Regions from separate parts of the Homo sapiens genome. Here region 1 is linked to region 2. The links are contacts of gene promoters, found by promoter capture Hi-C in blood cells and fetal thymus (Javierre and others, 2016). All regions are on one chromosome and are shown on one strand. Each heading gives the region's core, a stretch centred on a gene start or on the middle of the fragment in contact. The rest is flanking DNA. Distances are from core to core; before and after follow the strand shown. Region 1 overlaps DIS3L2 (DIS3 like 3'-5' exoribonuclease 2). Region 2 holds the start of DIS3L2 (DIS3 like 3'-5' exoribonuclease 2).

Evidence for each region. Contacts are between HindIII fragments. The CHiCAGO score rates a contact against its expected background, and 5 or more counts as called.
Region 1: a fragment that was not itself captured here is called in contact with the fragment with the promoter of DIS3L2 in region 2 in 2 of 17 cell types (fetal thymus and erythroblasts); the score reaches 5.8 in fetal thymus.

The regions. Positions count from the first base shown.
Region 1 is chr2:232,141,016-232,143,715 of GRCh38, reverse strand. All of the region lies in intron 8 of DIS3L2 (DIS3 like 3'-5' exoribonuclease 2), which reads right to left. Among named protein-coding and RNA genes, the nearest start is that of MIR562, 30 kb to the left of the region's middle. The HindIII fragment of the contact is 8,971 bases long and covers 1-2,700 here.
Region 2 is chr2:231,960,096-231,963,029 of GRCh38, reverse strand. DIS3L2 (DIS3 like 3'-5' exoribonuclease 2) reads right to left here and starts at 1,317. Exons shown (of 21, transcript NM_152383.5): 1 at 1,265-1,317. RefSeq lists a silencer at 1,060-1,219 and an enhancer at 1,350-1,439. The HindIII fragment of the contact is 14,565 bases long and covers 1-2,934 here.

The sequences.
Region 1 (2,700 bases), core at 73-2,572, 180 kb before region 2:
GTTACATATATTCTTTTTCCTGTGAAATATGCTTTGTAATTAAAGTTGATAAATATTTTTAAAACAATATTTTAGTCAAATGTATACCAAAACCTTAATAGTGATCGTTTCCGGGGGTGAAACTCTGGGAAATTTTCATTTTCAATAGTACACATTTGAATAAATTTAACAGTAAATATTCAATATGTATGTATTTGGAAAAAATAAAATTTAGAAATGTTTGTTAATTTGATATTTCAATAATAGTTGTAAGAGAGAAAGTTTTCCTCCATAGAGTTATTTATAATGATCACCACTTCAATTTTTCTTCACTAGAGCTCCTCCATGAATACTGCTGCCATTCACAAAGAATGACATTCCAACTGAGTCCTACTGTAAAATTAATCTGAATGGCACTGCAACAATATTCCCAACTTCCTACATATGATAGGTGGGGGCCTTGGGAAACATATAAACATTCTATATAAATAAGCATCAGATCTACTATCCTGGGTGATATGCCTATTAAAAACGTACTGAGGAAAGGGACCAGCTACAGACAGAAAAAAATATAACAAGAAAGTCCTTCAAATTGGCCTCTTTGCCTTAAAGAAAACAGGAACATTAAATAGTCAAGATTAGTGTTCTCAGCCATTCATCATCTTTCCTCTACTAAATATTCTTATAAACTCCTAGTCTTACAACTAGACGATATTTAGAAGACAGTCATGCACTCTTGCAGTGATTACCACTATCGTATTACTACTCTTAAATACATGCTCTCATACATGTTGGTCCAATGTTGGAAACTCCATGCAAACAGATATAATGGCATCACAGCCCTGAGAATGTACAAGTGGGGAACAATCAAACATCAACTATACCGAGGGCCCAAACTTCCAACAATACAAAGTAAAAACGAAGTGTGGCAAATACACTTGTCTTTGGCTGTATATTTTATGTATTATTTTCTATAATCAGGAGAGGGAACGAGTTATTTTCGCTTCTTATGGCTCAGTACTATGACACAGCAGAAAGTAGCACTTAAGGAATAGGGACTTCAGGAACGGTGTTTTTATCAGTGAAAATAGATAAAAGCATGGAGAAAAGAAGTAAGAGTCAACAATACTGAGTTATTTAAGAAAAGGTCTTGAAATTTAAGAGTGAATTGGTGTTGATATGAAGAAAGCAAAGAGGAAGCTGAAAGGATTTAATGAGTATAAGAGGAGGTTGATGGTTATCTAAGGTCCTCTAACATCATAATATTTTCAAGAAGGTGCACTAGAAATTGCAGTTGAAGATGGCGACTTTGGAAGAAGTGCCAAAACTGCATGCAGTGCTCATCAAGGAAAGGAACAATTTGGTAACCTAAGCCTGGATCAGGATCATTCTCCTCCATTCCTTTAACTTTTGCTCTGCCTTGACCAGGATTTTCTCAGTGTTGAAGACACAGCTTTTTCCAAAGCTGATCCTTACAGGCCACCAGGTGGAGCCCAACAGTCACAAAAAAAGAGCCCCCTCCTCAGCCTGATTTGCTTTTTGCCTCCTAGCCGGCCAGGTCCATACCCCTTGAAAAGAACATACAAACTCTATAGATCTGGTAATGCGAGTCCATAGCATTATATAACTTGGTTTCTCCCTCAGAGCTATCTTTAAAGAACATGCTCTCAAAAAGGTGAAATATTCCTTTTGCAAAGGGAAAGATTGGATACAGTTATTTTTCAGTTTGCTAATCTTGGAGCCTATGCTTCAATGAAACAAACTAATTTCTTCTGTTTGTTTTTTCTATCAATCTAGTCATGGTTTAATTTTCCTACTAATTACAATTCAATGTATTTAATGTAATTTAATGACCACCTCTTCAATTCCTATCTACCCTGTAAGAAACTGAGTATCTATCAAAACTGAATGGAATGTAAAAGTATTTGCTTCCATGGGTCAATAAATATTGCTGACTGGCTAACAACCACCACAAGGTGAAAAGCTAGGAGACAAAGGTGATACCAGAACAGACCTCCACCCCCTACTTCCCATCTCTACCACAGTCCTCTAAGGTCAGAATTTCCCTTCCTCTGCTTTCACCTCACTCCGTCATCTGCTCCAATGGAACCTGCTGTCCTTCACACTCATTAAAGCCAGCAGCACTGTGACCCATTCTCTGTTTCTCATTTCCACAGCCTCCCATTAAGCCTAGGCAATCCCATGTTCAACCAAGAACTTCTCAGCCTGTAATGACCTATTCATTTTTCCTCCTCCTCCTCCACCCCTCAAAACCACCAGACTTTGCTTGATAAAATAATATAAATGTGTCAATTTGCTCTAGGTCGATTCATGTCACATATCTTCAGCTAGCCTTCAGTGTTGCCAAGAAACACTATTAAGTTCCTCACGGTAGCTGCTGTAAAACGTTTCCATTTTATTCAAGACTTACCCTTAAATAGTCAAGAAGAAACCATGACAAATCTGGGAGAAAGTGACCATGCTATCTCTACGCTCAAGACATCCCGGAAAGAGAAGCTGGAACTGTAAACTCTAGACTGAGGATACCAGATTTCCCAAAGGGCTGAGAAAATATAGGCATGAATTCCACTGCAAGAGTTTCTAAAGGGAAAGATGATTTAAGAGGTTGGGAAGCTCTTAAAACTGTAAATCTGATTATGTAATTGCAGATCATTCCAGCGAAGAAACCAATGTGGCTTTTTAATTATCCTGGACTAGAGT
Region 2 (2,934 bases), core at 68-2,567:
AGCTATTCACAATAGCAAACACACGGAATCAACCTAGGTGACCATCAATGGTGGACTGGAAAAAAAAAATGTGGATGTACAGGATGGAATACTATGCAGCCACAAAAAAGGAAGATATCATGTCCTTTACAGCAGCACAGATGGAGCTGGAGGCCATAATCCTAAACGAATTAGCACAAGAACAGAAAACTAAACACCACACGTTCTCACTTATAAGTGGGAGCTAAACATTGAGCACACTTACAAGTGGGAGTAGAAACATTGAGCGCACATGGACATAAACATGGGAACAGTCGGCCGGGTGCGGTGGCTCACGCCTGTAATCCTAGCACTTTGGGAGGCCAAGGCGGGCGGATCACGAGGTCAAGAGATCGAGACCATCCTGACTAACATGGTGAAACCCCGTCTCTACTAAAAATACAAAAAAATTAGCCGGGCGGGGTGGCGGGCGCCTGTAGTCCCAGCTACTCGGGAGGCTGAGGCAGAAGAATGGCATGAACCCAGGAGGCGGAGCTTGCAGTGAGCCGAATCGCGCCACTGCACTCCAGCCTGGGCGACAGAATGAGACTCCGTCTCAAAAAAAAAAAAAAAAGGTAACGGTAGACACTGTAGACTACTGGAAGGAGGGGAGAGATGGGGGATGTGGGTTGAAAAACTACCTACTGGGTTCTATGCTCAATACCTGGGTGCAATATACCCATGTGACTAACCTGCATGCGTATCCCCCATATCTAAAAGTTTATTAAAAAAAAAAACTCTCTATGATCAATAAAGGAGATAAAGTGTATCACTGTGGAAAGCGCAAACGTCAAGGACATGTTATAATTAAGCGGCTGCCCTTCAAGATTCCCGAGGCTCCCCATCCCTGCCAGTCCTGAACATCTCGATCAAGACCCTAGAGAACGCGTCCACAGGTGACCCGAGCCTCGGGAGGCGTCCTCTCTACAGCAACAGGCTCTAATTCTGGTCTCGCTCCCCTCACGCCATCCTAGGCTACAAGGGCCCCGGCGCTATAAGCGCGGCCTGGGAGGCCGGGTCGGTCAGGAGCGGAGAGTGGGGAGCTGGGGACATTGAGGGAGATGCGGGACAGGGAAGACGCGTGGGCCGGGGAGCAACGCCAGAGGCGGAAGACGCTCGTCCCGGGCCGCCACCACAGGTGCCGGGCGAAGCGCCGCGGAGCCCCCCAGAGGCCAGACCCCGGGTCGGTCCCGAGGGGGTCGTGCAGCACTAGGCGGTGCAGGGGGCAGGCGAGTGAGGGCCTCACCGTTTCTCCCCGGAGGCCGGCGCCGCCGCAGTCCCGCAGTTGCTAAGGAGAATGCTCTTCCGGGTCACGGGCGCGGCGTTCTAGAGAGCGACGGTGGCCGGGCGAGGCCGAGAGCGAAGCGCGCGGGGTGTGTGCGCGGTGCAGGAGCTCGTAGTCGGCGGTTCAGCTGCGACAAGGGCGAAATGGCCAGGCCAGGGGCCGCCGCGCCTTCTCCGGCCTCGCTCGCGGGGACAACTGGCTGCAACGGTTGGCTCCCAGTGGGCGGCCTCTGAGACGCCTTGTGCCAGGCGCCGGCTGGCTCCGGGCCCCTCTTCCACCGGAAGGAGCCTTCCAGACCCGGCTCCTGAACCTCCAGGCTCTGCTCCACTGGGCCAGGTCTTGCACGGCAGACGCCGCCGGCCCCTTTCCTGTTACAAGGCTTTGCTCATTCTTTCATTTACTCACTGCTCATTTATTGGACAACTGCTTGGGGCGAGGTGCAGTGCTGGCACTGGGGATACAGAGATGGACAACCCCCGCATGGTCCCTGCCCTCAGGATGTGAGGCTGATGGCAGAGCAAGCAGATGACGTCCTGCACGTGGGGATGATCGAAGGAAAGGAGACTAGGGGAGCCTGCCCAAGGGGCCCACCCAGACACGGGTGGGGAGCAGCTGATGTTGGAGACGTCGACCTAGTATAAAGGGTTGGGAAGAGGGTTTCAGGTGAGAGAGGAAGCGCAGCCGAGAAAGCCCCCGACAGTTCAGCCCGCCCAGGGAAGCGTGTTGAGAGGAAACAATCGTTAAGTACGGGACCTAGGAAACACCAATATTGTAGATGTGAGCAAAGGAAAAGGAAATCCAAAGAGCAGCCAGAACGTTCGGGAGAGCACAAGAGGAAAGAATGCCAGTGAGGGGATGGCCGCCATTCTCAAGCTATGGAGATCAAGTGTCCATTGGTGACCATAGAAAAATCAAACTTCCCTTTGGGAGGCCGAGGCGGGCGGATCACCTGAGGTCGGGAGTTCGAGACCAGCCTGATCAACATGGAGAAACCCCGTCCCTATTAAAAATAATAAATTAGCCAGACGTGGTGGCACATGCCTGTAATCCCAGCTACTCAGGAGGCTGAGGCTGGTGAATCGCTTTAACCCCGGAGGCGGAGGTTGCAGTGAGCCGAGATCGCACCATTGCACTCCAGAAAAAAAAAAAGAGAGAGGGAAGGAAAGACGGGAGGGCAGGGCAGGGTAGGGATCAAACTTCGGGAATACAATGTGGACAGATGCTTGAACCACCGTATGCTCCATATTGAAAAAGGAAAAGAGATGCATTAAATTGTGCCTATATTTCTCTTTTTTTTTTTTTTTTTTTTTTTGAGACGGACTATCGCTCTGTCGCCCAGGCTGGAGTGCAATGGTGCGATCTCGGCTCACTGCAACCTCCGCCTCCTGGGTTCAAGCAGTTCTCCTGCCTCAGTCCCGAGTAGCTGGGACTACAGGCGCGTGCCACCACTCTCGGCTAATTTTTGTATTTTTAGTAGAGACGGGGTTTCACCGTGTTAGCCAGGATGGTCTCACTCTTCCGCCCATCTTGTCCCAAAGTGCTGGGATTACAGGTGTGAGTCACCGCACCCGGCCAGTGCGTTGCAGTAGTCTAAGAAAATTCAGGGTTTCCCTTAGTAACTATGAGCTCCA